4 separate regions of the Homo sapiens genome follow, and regions 1, 2 and 4 are each linked to region 3. The links are contacts of gene promoters, found by promoter capture Hi-C in blood cells and fetal thymus (Javierre and others, 2016). All regions are on one chromosome and are shown on one strand. The core of a region is centred on a gene start or on the middle of the fragment in contact, and the rest is flanking DNA. Distances in the headings are between cores, read along the strand shown.

Evidence for each region. Contacts are between HindIII fragments. The CHiCAGO score rates a contact against its expected background, and 5 or more counts as called.
Region 1: a contact is called between a fragment that was not itself captured here and the fragment with the promoter of CTRB2 in region 3, in 1 of 17 cell types (M1 macrophages). The highest score is 5.3, in M1 macrophages.
Region 2: a contact is called between the fragment with the promoter of ZNRF1 here and the fragment with the promoter of CTRB2 in region 3, in 2 of 17 cell types (M1 macrophages and M0 macrophages). The highest score is 5.2, in M1 macrophages.
Region 4: a contact is called between a fragment that was not itself captured here and the fragment with the promoter of CTRB2 in region 3, in 3 of 17 cell types (naive CD8 T cells, fetal thymus and naive B cells). The highest score is 6.1, in naive CD8 T cells.

The regions. Positions count from the first base shown.
Region 1 is chr16:75,440,386-75,443,951 of GRCh38, forward strand. It overlaps TMEM170A (transmembrane protein 170A), which reads right to left. Exons shown (of 3, transcript NM_145254.3): 3 at 2,669-3,566. Among named protein-coding and RNA genes, the nearest start is that of CFDP1, 8.7 kb to the left of the region's middle. The HindIII fragment of the contact is 1,762 bases long and covers 764-2,525 here.
Region 2 is chr16:74,997,774-75,000,893 of GRCh38, forward strand. ZNRF1 (zinc and ring finger 1) reads left to right here and starts at 1,251. Exons shown (of 5, transcript NM_032268.5): 1 at 1,251-2,322. The coding sequence starts at 1,899. RefSeq lists silencers at 1,043-1,562, 1,963-2,272 and an enhancer at 3,063-3,120. The HindIII fragment of the contact is 6,289 bases long and covers 1-3,120 here.
Region 3 is chr16:75,205,732-75,208,945 of GRCh38, forward strand. It overlaps CTRB2 (chymotrypsinogen B2), which reads right to left and starts at 1,430. Exons shown (of 7, transcript NM_001025200.4): 1 at 1,359-1,430; 2 at 359-462; 3 at 182-261; 4 at 11-89. The coding sequence starts at 1,410. RefSeq lists a silencer at 1,020-1,239 and an enhancer at 2,912-3,214. The HindIII fragment of the contact is 10,617 bases long and covers 1-3,214 here.
Region 4 is chr16:75,359,063-75,362,319 of GRCh38, forward strand. All of the region lies in intron 5 of CFDP1 (craniofacial development protein 1), which reads right to left. Among named protein-coding and RNA genes, the nearest start is that of CFDP1, 73 kb to the right of the region's middle. The HindIII fragment of the contact is 4,280 bases long and covers 1-3,257 here.

The DNA.
Region 1 (3,566 bases), core at 395-2,894, 230 kb after region 3:
GCTCACCACAACCTCCACCTCCCAGGTTCAAGCGATTCTCCTGCCTCAGCCTCCTGAGTAGCTGGGATTACAGGTATGCACCACCACACCCGGCTAATGTTTGTATTATTAGTAGAGACAGGGTTTCACCATGTTGGCCAGGCTAGTCTCGATCTCCTGACCTTGTGATCCGCCCGCCTCAGCCTCCCAAAGTGCTGGGATTACAGGTGTGAGCCACCGCGCCTGGCCACGCCTAGCTAACTTTTATACCTTTTGTAAAGACGGGGTTTCACCATGTTGGTCCAGTTGGTCCACCACCAGGCTGGTCCAGTCCTTTGTGACTTGAACATATTTCCTCATATTTTGTGAGGTTTCCACTTTTTTTGAAAGACAGCATCCTGCTCTATTGCCCAGGCTGGAGTGCAGTGGTGCATAGCCCCACTGTAGCCTCCAACTCCTGGGTTCAAGCAATCCTCCCACCTCAGCCTCCTGAGTAACTAGAACTTCAGGTGCACACAACCACACCCAGCTAACTTTTAAAAATACACATATTTTGTAAAGATAGGGTCTTGCTGTGTTACCCAGGCTGATCTCAAACTCATGACCTAAACCAGTCCTCCCACCCGGGCCTCCCAAATTGCTGGGATTACAGGCATGAGCCACCGTGTCTGGCTATTCATACTTTCTTGAAGGTGTCCTTCAAAGTCGTTTTTAATTTTGATGAAGTCCAATTTATCTATTTTTTGTTTATTTTCCCTTGTGCTTTTGGAATTGTATCTAAGAAAGCTTTACCTAAGCCAAGATCATAAAATTTACGCTTATTTTTTTCTAAGAGTTGTAGTTCTTGCGTTTAGGTTTATGATCCATTTAAGCACATTTTTTTTTTTTTTTTGAGATGGAGTTTCGCTCTTGTTGCCCAGGCTGGAGCGCAATAGCGTGATCTCGGCTCACTGCAACCTCTGCTTCCTGGGTTCAAGCGATTCTCCTGCCTCAGCCTCCCAAGTAGCTGGGATTACAGGCATACACCACCACGTGTGGCTAATTTTGTATTTTTAGTATAGACAGGGTTTCTCCATGTTGGTCAGGCTGATCTGGAACTCCTGACCTCAGGTGATCTGCCCGCCTCGGGCTCCCGAAGTGCTGGGATTACAGGCATGAGCCACTGCACCCGGCCTAAGCACACTTTTCTTATGGGAGAGTAATAGAAAAATAGATGTAAAATTTGAACCCAGTATTTGGAAGTTGACCATTCTTGGCGTCATTTACCTTGGACAGCATAAATGGTGTCCTACAGCCACAAATCAGGATGTACCCTTTTGCCCTATCACTGGGGGTGAGTCTGGGGAACAGGAGCCACTGCGTTCTCTGGCAGACACTCCCCAGCACCCATTTCTCCTAGCACTCCATGTGATTGTTCAGATTTACAACTAGAGTTCCTGACCGCTTTAAGGGTAATCAGAGTGGGAATTACTTTCTAATAGTTGAGATGGAAAAAAAATTGGTGGTGAGCAGGCCAAATCCAGCTTAAAATCATGTATTGTAATGACTTAAAAGTGTTTTACGGCAAGGCGCACAATTACAGGTGGCTCGCGGCTGTAATTCCAGCACTTTGGGAAGCCAAGGTGGGCGGACCATTTGAGGTCAGGAGTTCGAGACCATCCTGGCCAACACCGTGAAACCTCGTCTCTACTAAAAATACAAAAATTAGCCAGGTTTGGGGGCGCACATCTGTAATCCCAGCTACTTGGGAGGCTGAGGCAGGAGAATCACTTGAACTTGGGAGGTGAAGATTGCAGTGAGCCAAGATCGCGCCACTATACTCCAGCCTGAGCAACAGAGCGAGACTGTGTCTCTAAATAAATAAATAAATAATAAAAGTGTTTTACGCAAGTTTAAATTAGTTGCTAACACTTAAAAATGGAGAGATTTCAAACAGTAACCTAGATTTCCAGCTTCTCTTGAAAATAAGTATCTGGCAAGATTGGGTTAATCATCGAATAAAGCAGAAACAGGCTGGAGCCAAGCAATAGCTGACTCCTTCGGACAGGGCTCTCCACTTGGCCACAGCACAAATCCCTCCAACTCCCTAAAGATTCCTGGTTCACTGTTCTGTTTTCTCGGTAATAATTTAGGGTGTCCTCCCTGCCGATCTCAGCACCTTTACTCCCAGATACATATACAGTCTTGGGGTCTTCTGTCTGAACTGTGTACGTATCTTTCCGGGGTGCTAGAAACATTCTGTCTCTTGATCTATTAGTCACATTAAGTATATATATATATATATATATATATATGTAAAATTCATTAAGCTATACATTTTAAGATTTGTACACTTTACTGCATGTTAAACCTCAACTTTAGAAAATTAGAAGGAATGAATGGGCAATCTCCTGCCAGACATTCTCTGTATGTGTCTGCAATGGCTGGAACTGCAGCAATCTTGTGACCATGAGGTAAACTACCCAACTTAGTCCCATTTGTTAAAAATGGCAGAACAGTGAGATTTATGATGTCACCAAGGGTATTAAATTAACCAAACACGACGAAGCTTCTCTTCATGTGGACTTACTATTAAAATAATACATTTTCACACACTGTATCAATACTCACCTATTCCTGCACAGAATCAAACAAAAGTTTCTTGATGGGAATATATGGCCCAGCAAGTAGAGTTAATAAGAATTTCAAGTTCACATGTTAAGTACGGTTTAATCACAACTTTGAACAAGAATTTTATCATAAATTAGTAAGAAGTAGAACATAAAAAAAGTTACACATGCTAGATATTAAGTTATTTAAAAAATGAAAACTGAAGTCAATTTTATTACAAAAGATTAAACTCATTAGCCACCAAAAAGAAATATAATTCCAACTCAGAATTGAAAGTAATTTTTTATTGATAAACATTTACACTAGAATTAGAAATGTCAGTAGAAAAATAAAATTTAAATAATTTTCTATTGTACAAAGATTTGATCATTTTGACTGTAGCAGTTAGTGAAATAACATAATATAAAAAGTTAAGCTGATCTGAGTCACAACCAGCCTTATAGAGTGCACAAAAAAGAAATGCAAGTACACGACATTTCTGCATATGGTCTGCTAATGGCACCGATGCTTCACATTCCAGGAAATGGTTACTTAGGGAAGGTTGATATGTGCTGCAGCATAATAGGAACTTAATTCAAACCAGAGCAACCAGAAAGGATACTGGAGGCAAAAGCCAAAATACAATTTAAAATCTTAAAAAAAATAAGGAACGGTTTAAAGGTAATTAATGAACTTTTCCTCACCTAGTGTAAACATTTCATAAGAAGTAATATTTTGTGGTCACAAAAAAAGCACAGATACCTCTTTTAGAATATTCATGATGCTCTTGTGTATGAACTTAAGTTTTCATGAAATGCTTTCACCTCAAAACCCCGTATTCAAGAATCAAGAAGGCCAAGCATGATGGCTCATGTCTATAGTCCCATCACGTTGGGAGGCCGAGGCGGGTGGATCACTTGAAGTCAGGAGTTTGAGACCAGCCTGTCCAACATAATCAAACCCTGTCTCTACTAAAAATACAAAAATTAGCTGGGCCT
Region 2 (3,120 bases), core at 1-2,500, 210 kb before region 3:
AGCCTGGGAGGAGCAAGGCTCCGTCTCAAAAAAAAAAAAAAAGAAAAGAAAAAAAAGAAAAAGAAAAACAGGGCGGGCGCGGTGGCTCATGCCTGTAATCCTAACACTTTGGGAGGCCAAGGCAGGTGGATTACCTGAGGTCAGGAGTTCAAGACCAGCCTGGCCAATACGGTGAAACCCCGCCTCTACTAAAAATACAAAAAATTAGCCAGGTGCAGTGTGGCATGTGCCTGTAATCCCAGCTACTCGGGAGGCTGAGGCAGGAGAATCACTTGAATCCGGGAGGCGGAGGTTGCGGTGAGCCGAGGTTACGCCACACCACTCCAGCCTGGGTGACAGGGCGAGATTACGTCTCAAAAACAAAAACAAAACAAAACAAAAAAAACAGTTGTTCAATAAATGAATGTGAATATAGGAGAAAGACGGCTTGAGGTAGCAAAGGAACACTCCCTTGCAAATGATTCAGGCTTGGTCAACAATACACCTATTGAGTACCCACCGTGTCCTTGGCCCGTGGTGAGGGCCGAAACACAGCACATGGTAAACAAAACAGGGCTCCAGCCTTGGACAGAAGGTTTCTATAATCACTTCTAGCTGCGTTGTTCTATTTCCATACCCATATCTATTCACTTTTTATGGTACATCTATTGATTCTGAAAATTACATTTTAGCTAAGGAATCTACTCATTTGCTTAAGCCCAAAATAGGAAGTTATGATCTAGTGTCAGCAAAACGCCGGATTCACAAGTGTCCCCATGGCGCTGTTTACCCCCAAATAACTAAACCCCGCCAAATGTTGAGATTCCGGACGTGAGGGGTGCTTGGATGGGGAACCCCCGAAAGAATGGACATCACGTCCACCAGAGGGTGCTGTGGGGGCAAATTTGTGCCAGGAGGGGAGCTCGACCGGTGACCCTCAGAGCCAGGTAGGCGTAAGGAGTAAATCTCCTTCTTCCCGGTGTTTCCTTCCCACCCCCTCGAACCATTGCTGCCCCTCCCCCATACTTGGTTCCCCCTGAATAATTTGCCACTTTCGGGGACTTAAGAAGTGTTTGCTTTTGAAAGACATCTGGTTTCTGTGGCTAACGCCCAGTGGTCAGGCCGCCCAGGTCACAGGCCGGCCGGGGGCGGGCGGTGGGTGGGGACTGCTGGGGCGTCAGCGGCCCAGGCGCCGCAGGGACCGCGAAAGGGTTAACCCGGCGGGGGGAGGGGGAGGGGGCGCGGGCCGCGCCTGCGCTCTGCCGCCCTCCATTGTCTCCACGGCGGCGAGGAGCGCCGGCGAGCGCAGCCCGGGACCGAGCGGGGCGGCGCGGCTGGCGGGGCCGGCGGCGGCTGAAGCGAGAGCGCGACGCGACGCGACCGCGGCTTCCCGAGCTGCGCCTGGCCGCCCAGCGCCGCGGCCCGCCCGAGGCCTGGAGGGGTCCGGGCCGCCGTCCATGGTCGCGGCGTCCTGAGGCGGGGGACGCGCCCGGCGCCCCCGGCCCTCCTCCGCCTCCTCCCGCGGGGCGGGCGGCCTCCTCCGGCGCCTCCCCGCGCCCGCCCGCCGCTCGCCGCCGCCTCCCTCCCTCCTTCCCTGCGGCTCCCCCGGCTTTCGGAGCCCGGGGGCGGCCTGTGGCGCGCGGAGCCCGCGCCGGACTGCGCCTCTTTGGACCTTGAGGGGAAACATGCGTTTGCCTTGGATCGTTTGAAATTCTGAGTTTGGGATCCCCGCCCGCCCGCCTGCCTCTTCCGCCCCGCGGGTTTTTTCCTTTTTTCCTTTTGCTTTTTTTCCTTTTCTCCCTCCGGGTCTCCTTTTTGACTCCCTCCCCCTTTATGCTCGCCCAGCCCTCCCCCTGCTGCTGAGAAGTGGGGGAGGGTCTCGGCCTCCAGGTTCCCGCCCCACCGGGGCCCGGGCGAGCATGGGGGGCAAGCAGAGCACGGCGGCCCGCTCCCGGGGCCCCTTCCCGGGGGTCTCCACCGATGACAGCGCCGTGCCGCCGCCGGGAGGGGCGCCCCATTTCGGGCACTACCGGACGGGCGGCGGGGCCATGGGGCTGCGCAGCCGCTCGGTCAGCTCGGTGGCAGGCATGGGCATGGACCCCAGCACGGCCGGGGGGGTGCCCTTTGGCCTCTACACCCCCGCCTCCCGGGGCACCGGCGACTCCGAGAGGGCGCCCGGCGGCGGAGGGTCTGCGTCCGACTCCACCTATGCCCATGGCAATGGTTACCAGGAGACGGGCGGCGGTCACCATAGAGACGGGATGCTGTACCTGGGCTCCCGAGCCTCGCTGGCGGATGCTCTACCTCTGCACATCGCACCCAGGTGGTTCAGCTCGCATAGTGGTGAGTCCGCGGGTGGTGGAGGCCTCGGAGGGAGGGCGCGCCGGGGCGCCCCAAGCCTTCGCGTGCGTGCCAAGGTTTGGGAATGTAGTGCACGACCGGGATCTGTCTGCATTCCCTTTGGTTCCCGATGCCAAGGGATAAATGGGATACCTACCGTCTGGAAACTAGGCTTTCTGCGAGGCTGCGGAGCCTGGCGATTTAGGGACTCACGGCGTGTGTTCACTTGTGGAAGGGCAGAGCGAAGCCTACCTATTGGAGTTCCATTTATTGGCATCACCCTCCTCAGAGAAGAGGTCGTGTCTGGCTGAGAGCAAGTCAGCCTGGGTACTTCCATTCTGCCACTGCAGCACTGTGCCTGCCTCACCGGTAACGGAGAGATGGAGCCAGTTGGAGCAAGCAGTGTCTCCTAAACAGAGTGTGTGAAAATGAAATAAAATCAGGGGCAAGTGATGCCTGGATTAGGGCTCTCACTCTTGCTGGGAGAGAGAGGTGCCCAGTTTTGCCACCCTGCTGGAGATCTGTTTGAAATGTTTAAAATGGAGCAGCCGGCAGGCGGCTGGCATAGACAGGTGTGGCTGCTGTACGGAGGGCCCAGCCGGCGAGTCTCGCGGGGGCTTTGCAGGACCCGGGCTGTGGTCACCCGTACTGCATGCAGCAGGCTTGGCTCCGCGACTCTCGCCTCCCTCCATCTTTTTTTCTTCTGCTCCATGCTAAGTGCTTGGTCTTCCCGTGAATCTGCATCTTTTTGTAACAGGGAGCCTGTCACGGTGGGGCATTATTGCCTGGCTGTTGGCACAT
Region 3 (3,214 bases), core at 180-2,679:
GCCTGGGTACCTTGGCGATCTTCAGGACCTGGATGTTCTCCTCGTCAGAGCCCTGGTCAAACTCCCCAGCCACGACCACGTCGGAGGTCCTGGGCAGAGCGTTGTGGGTGAGAGAACATGCCCTGCTCCCCTCCCACCCGACCGGTGCTGGAAGCGGAGCCCAAGGCTGCCCGGTCCTCACCTGACCCCGCAGTGGGCAGCGGTGACCACCCAGTCCTCGCTGATGAGGGAGCCCCCGCAGAAGTGGAAGCCGGTTTTGTCCTGTGAGCAAGATGGGGAGGGTCAGCACCTCCCACCCGGGGGCACCCCCAGCCTGGCCCCTACCCAGGGTGCCCCCCACCTTGCAGAACCCCCTCACCTGCAGGGACACCTGCCAGGGCCAGGAGCCGGGGACGGCGTCCTCCCCATTCACGATCCTGGACAGGCCGCTGAGCACAGGGTGGATGGCGGGGACCCCGCAGCCTGGGGGCGGGAGTGGGCTGAGGGGTGGGTACCACCCACCCAGGTCCTAATGCTCCAGCCTCCTCTCACTCCCAACTCTTTTCCAGTCTCTGGGACCTAGACTGGCTCCCACATCCCCTTCTCTGAGAAGTTGGCCCTGGCTCTCCTCTCCGCAGAGCTGGAATCCCCAGGTACAACTGAGTCCAATGAACTGGGCTGTGGGCTGCTGAGGAATGGGGTGTTGGCCCCACCTCAGTTCGGAGAAGTCACACAGGTGGAGCGTGCGGTGGGCGGCAGCCCCGGCGCTCAGTCTGGGAGGCCAGACTCTGTGGGTTTGAACCTGGCTCCCTCCCTGCCCAGCTAAGCCACTCAGTGTCCCCATCAGCAAAGTGGGGATCACGCTGTTTCTGACCTCACAGGTTTGGTAGAGTGAGCAGGCAGAGCGCCAGCTCTGCGCCTGGCACCCGGGAAGTGCTCCGTGAGCAGGAGTTTAAGAGGGTGAGGCTCGAGGTTCTGAAAGGTTTGGACTGAACGGTGCCAAGCCCCAGCTGCCCACACATTCACCACCCAAACCTGTGCTGGGGCCGCTGACTGTTTGGGGGTTTCCCGAAGGCCTCAGGGCAGCCCCCGGACACCTGCCTCCTCCCCCCGCCTCCTCCCCTGAGAGCCTCAGGTCTGCTGGGGGTGAGGAAGGGGAGCGGGACTCCCCATCTCCTGAGCTCAGAGGCGGCAGCTGAGCCTGGGAGGGAGGCATTGACCTCTCAGCGCCCACGGCAGAGATGGAGCCGGTGACTCGCCCAGGCCCACACTGCGGTGCACAGCTGAACTGGGAGCTGGGACCCTGCTGCCTCTTGCTGGCCTCGGGGCTGGGAGTGAGAGGAGAAAACCCTTCGGCCTCCGCAGGGCCTGGCACTCACCGAAGGTGGTACCCAGGAGGGCCCAGCAGGAGAGGAGCCAGAGGAAAGCCATGGTGCCGCTGGCAGGGGTGTAGGACGCCTGTCTGCCGGTCCCCGTTATAGCCCTGTGTGCCTGCTGTTATCTGGAGACCTTGGGGCGATAATCCCTTCCCTGGGAGTGGGCAAGATGTGTCGGTGCAGGGCTGGCCAGGAAGCCTGGGATGGCAGCAGCTGTGGCCTTAGCTGAGCCGGGCTAACCCAGGTGGCCTTCGACCATTGCCTTTCTCCTCCAGGCCCAGGCTTGGGCAGGGGCCTCCAGGGGCTGAGTCCAGCATCCCCGGGTTTGAGCCCCAGCTGAGTCTCTTGTGCTCTGCAAAGAATTCACTTGATCTTTTCATGGTTTGAAAACCCCTGGGCAGGCCGGGCATGGTGGCTCACGCCTGTAATCCCAGCACTTTGGGAGGCTGAGGCGGATGGATCACGAGGTCAAGAGATCAAGACCATCCTGGCCAACATGGTGAAACTCCGTCTCTACTAAAAATACAAAAAATTAGCCAGGCGTGGTGGCGCACACCTGTATTCCCAGCTACTTGGGAGGCTGAGGCAGGAGAATGGTGTGAACCCGGGAGGCGGAGGTTGCAGTGAGACGAGATTGCGCCACTACACTCCAGCCTTGTGACAGTGAGACTGTCTCAAAAAAGGAAAAAAAACAAAAAAAAAGAAAAAAACCCAATGGGCAATGTGACCAAGTAGAGGAGAGGCTGGGGGAGCAGGCCTGTGCCCCATGGTGTAGCCAGAGGCTGGGGTGCGGGTGCTCGCCGGGTCCCAGGGGATGGCTAAGAAGGCTCAGTGAAGGCCCAGTCGACATCTGTGTTGGTCACTTGGGCTGTGTACAGGGGAGGGGTAGCTACCTGCTGTCCTCACACTGGGCCACCCCTGCACACAGGCGCCAGCACACCTGGGCCCTGGAGCTGAGCAGGTGGCATCAGAGGGCAAGACTGGGCCTAGGGCCCGGCCTGGGGGCCTGGCATCGCCCTGATGAGAACTGATGGAGGCTGAGCCTCAGGGCAGAGCATGGGCGGGGACACCTGGTTCCTCGTGCGGGTGGCAGCATGGGTGGTGGAGCCCTTTCTCAGCAACTGGGAAACGGGGGAGGGAGAAATTTTGGATTGAGGCTGCCAGATGGAGGGCAAGTTCCCCAAAATGCACAGGAAAAGGTGCCTCGTGGCTGTTTTCAATTCCACCACACTGATGCCTGCAGCATGTGTGTTTACAGCACGGGTTGTGGGGTCAGGCAGCTGTGGAGCCGTGGGCAAATGACTTGCCCTCTCTGATCCTGTATGTAATTGAGGATGCTTAGAGTATGGGTCCCATGACAAAAGGAAGAGCCTTCTTGAGCACCAGGACCAGGCCAAGCATGCAATCCACGCTGGCGGGGCCCCTACATTCCTCTTTCTTGAGTGAATCACCTGTTCAGGCCCTTCGCTCATTCTAGAAGATTGTCTGAGGACAGAGGGGTTGGCGGGCACCAGCAGGACGGAGCATGGCCTGGTCGGGATGAGACGCACCCACCTCTGCATGCACATGGGCTCTTCCTGCCAGCCAGTGCCCACCAGGCCCACGGGAACAGCTGAACAAAACCAACAAATTCCTGCGTGTGGCAGCTGACAGCCGGGAGGAGGCTGGAGAGTTTAGGGAAGAGAGTCAATTTTTAAAATAAGTAAAATACACACACCAGCAGCTAAAGAGTTCTTCTTCTCATTATTATTACTGATACTGAGGCCAGGAGGGCCTCACTCTGAAGGGGAGATTTAAGCAAACAGCCTAGGAGTTTGTGGGAGCAGTCCAGAGCACCCTCGGAGGAGAGGAAACGAACC
Region 4 (3,257 bases), core at 316-2,815, 150 kb after region 3:
GAGTGAGACTAAATTTTCTTTATATAATTCAGCCAAAACAACTGATTAAAATAGACTGAATGGAAAAGCAGATCTGACACTCCAGCTATCTTCGATTAAGCGAGATATTAAAGAAATTTACAAAATCATGCTATTCTAAATTTTAAAAATATACTAGTTTATTTTAATTTCTTATACTATAAATAACAACAGTTATAACCCAGTCAATAATTTTGAAGAGCGTAAAGAGGTCCTGAGAACAAAAAGTTTGAGAACTACTGAGTCAGAGTAACATGCACACGAGCCTCTTTTCCAACAGGAAAAGAAAGCCAGATTCTTATTAACAGAGAATAATTCACACCACTGGTTCCAAAATAGCAAAGCTCTGCAGAGGCTAATACGCTGTGAAGGGTATTAAGTGCTGAATTTTTAGCTAGTCTATTCAATGATGCTGTTTTCCCCTAAGACTCTTAAGGGGTGGAAAAATAAGACAAAACAACAAAACCACCCAAAACTCATGCCTTGGATTTGCCAAATCACTAAACCAATCTTTCCTGAGACTCCAATGCAGTCATGACCTGTATGCAATTGCCCTAACCATGATCACCTCCACCTTGCACTTGGTACCAGTGCCCACCTTCTATCAGATTCTATTTTCCAGGATAACAACCCTAAGCAAATTTGGAGACATATCAGGTTTTGAATTCAGAGCAAAACGATAACAGCCTCTGGCCCAACAGGGATATGCTTCACTGTCTTCTTGACCAAACCCAATTTATCTGAGTGCCAGTGTTTTATAAGTAACATCTACAGTTTTCAGTGTTTTATTTATTGTGCTATCAAACTTCACATTTGCATTGCTAATGGCTACTCTCCAAAGAAAGCTGAAAATGATCTGCTGAGAGACAACAGCAGTGCAGTGGCACCTTCTTAGCTCACTGCAGCCTCAAACTCCTGGGCTCAGATGATCCTCCTGCCTCAGCCTTCCCAATAGCTAGGACTACAGATGCATGCTCATTTTTAAAATTTTGGTAGAGAAGGGGGTCTCACTATGTTGGGCAGCCTGTCTTGAACTTCTGGCCTCAAGCAATCCTCCCATCCTGGCCTCCCAAAAAGTGCTGGGATTACAGGCATGAGCCACTGCGCCCAGCCCAGATTTTGGTTTCTAATATTACTTTCCACTAAAGGAACCAGGAACCTAGATGGGAGATGACTCCATGTCTTGGGGCAAAAAAACAATAAAGACCATTCTGGTATTTTCTAGCACTGCCAGAAAGTAAGAATACTTTTCAGACTGCCAGAGTTAGTGTCAAAAGGACAAAGGAATCAGCTCAAAGACAATGCCATTAGCCAATCTATGACAATCTGAGCTTCAAAAAGAAAATAACTATGGTTAACTGAAGGAAACCGAAACAAAACTAATTTTGTAAAAATAATTTAGCACCAGAGGGTCCAAAACAGGTTTTTGTACATGGAAAGGAATACTACCCCTCTTCTTATATCGCATTAACCCCCAATGGGAGCATAAGTTAAAGACAAAAACAGAGCATACATAACAATAACTTTCCTGTGGCTGAATAAAATCCCTTCTAGTAGAAATTGTTGAAAATCAAGATAACTGGAAATTTGCCACTAGTTTACCCCAAACCACACAGAATAAGTCTTATTAATAATTGTATTTATATTTTATCTCTTAAGATGTTTGATGTGCTTAAAAGAACAAGCTACCTTAATTTATATGTAATATTTAAGCAACGTTAATTTTCAATAGACAAATTTAACAACTGACCATTAAACAAACCATAAAAATATTACAGGTAAGATGTTAAAAAGATTCACATAAGAATTCTTTTTTAAAAAGAAATAGTAAGAAACAGCAGTTGATCTTCCACACCATCTCTAGAAACATCATCCAATGTTAAGATACATTTTTGGCTATTCTTTCAAACATTCCACCCATTCACCAATTTTCTTTTCTTTTTTTCTGAGGCAGGGTCTTACTCTATGGCCCAGGCTGGAGTGTAGTGGCGTGATCTTGGCTTACTACAACCTCCACCTCCTGGGTTCAAGTGATTCTCCTGCCTCAGCCTCTGTAGTAGCTGGGAATACAGGCACGCACCACCACACTCGGCTAATTTTTGTATTTTTTAGTAGCGATGGGGTTTTGCCATGTTGGCCAGGCTGCTCTCGATCTTCTGGCCTCAAGTGATCCACCCGCCACAGTCTCCCAAAGTGCTGTGATTACAGGCATGAGTAACCACACCCAGGCAAGTCAGATATTGTTTAAATTTAAAGCCGGGCGCGGTGGCTCACACCTGTAATCCCAGCACTCTGGGAGGCCGAGGCAGGTGGATCACTTGAAGTCAGGAGTTCAAGACCATCCTAGACAACATAGTGAATCCCCACGTACACTAAAAATACAATAATTAGCCAAGTGTGGTGCCGCACGCCTGTAATCCCAGCTACTCAGGAGGCTGAGGCATGAGAATCGCTTGAACCTGGGAGGCGGAGGTTGCTGTGAGCTGAGATCATGCCACTGCACTCCAGCCTGGGCAACAGAGCAAGACTATGTCTCAAAAAGAAAAACAAAACCAAAAAGACACACAAATCAACTTAGGAAGGGATAAACATGTAAAAAACTCAAAGAATTAAAAAAAGTTTTTTTACAATACACAATAGAACTGTCAAAAGGCACTTGCACCCTCCATAAATACACTGTAGAAAACAACTCTGAACACATGAACATGTTCTCTCCTTGTCTGGTTTCTTTTTGAATTTCTCAACGTCTGTTTCCTCTTTGGGTCCCAGGTTTCCTTGTATTTGTTTTCAGAATTTTACTATTATTTTTCGCTCTCTTCCTTCTCCTATTCTGCTACGGCATGAGCTGAAAGCGTGGCCTCAGGAAAACAAGCAAAAGAGCCTGTCTTGACCAATAATTCCCATACCTACAGGAAGTCATTTGTACAAAATGAAGGAACTCAGAAAAACCCAAGAATTCAATGAAGTTATTCATTCGGAGATGCTTTTGCCGCAATCGAATGCTTGCTAGTTCCTAGACTGCATGATCTACACAAATTGGGTAATAAGTCAGACGGGACAGTCCTGGGTCAGTACTGTCATTTCCTTTTCCATGTCTGCCCTACAGGCTTCAAGGCCAGGCAAAAAATATCCTTCATACTAAAAATCAAGTCTCCATACAGATCAGTGGTCTTGCCTATGGCCTATGGTGTAGCATCCTACTTTGGGTAGAAAGGCGGGGCCCAGCTGCACCTCTAGGA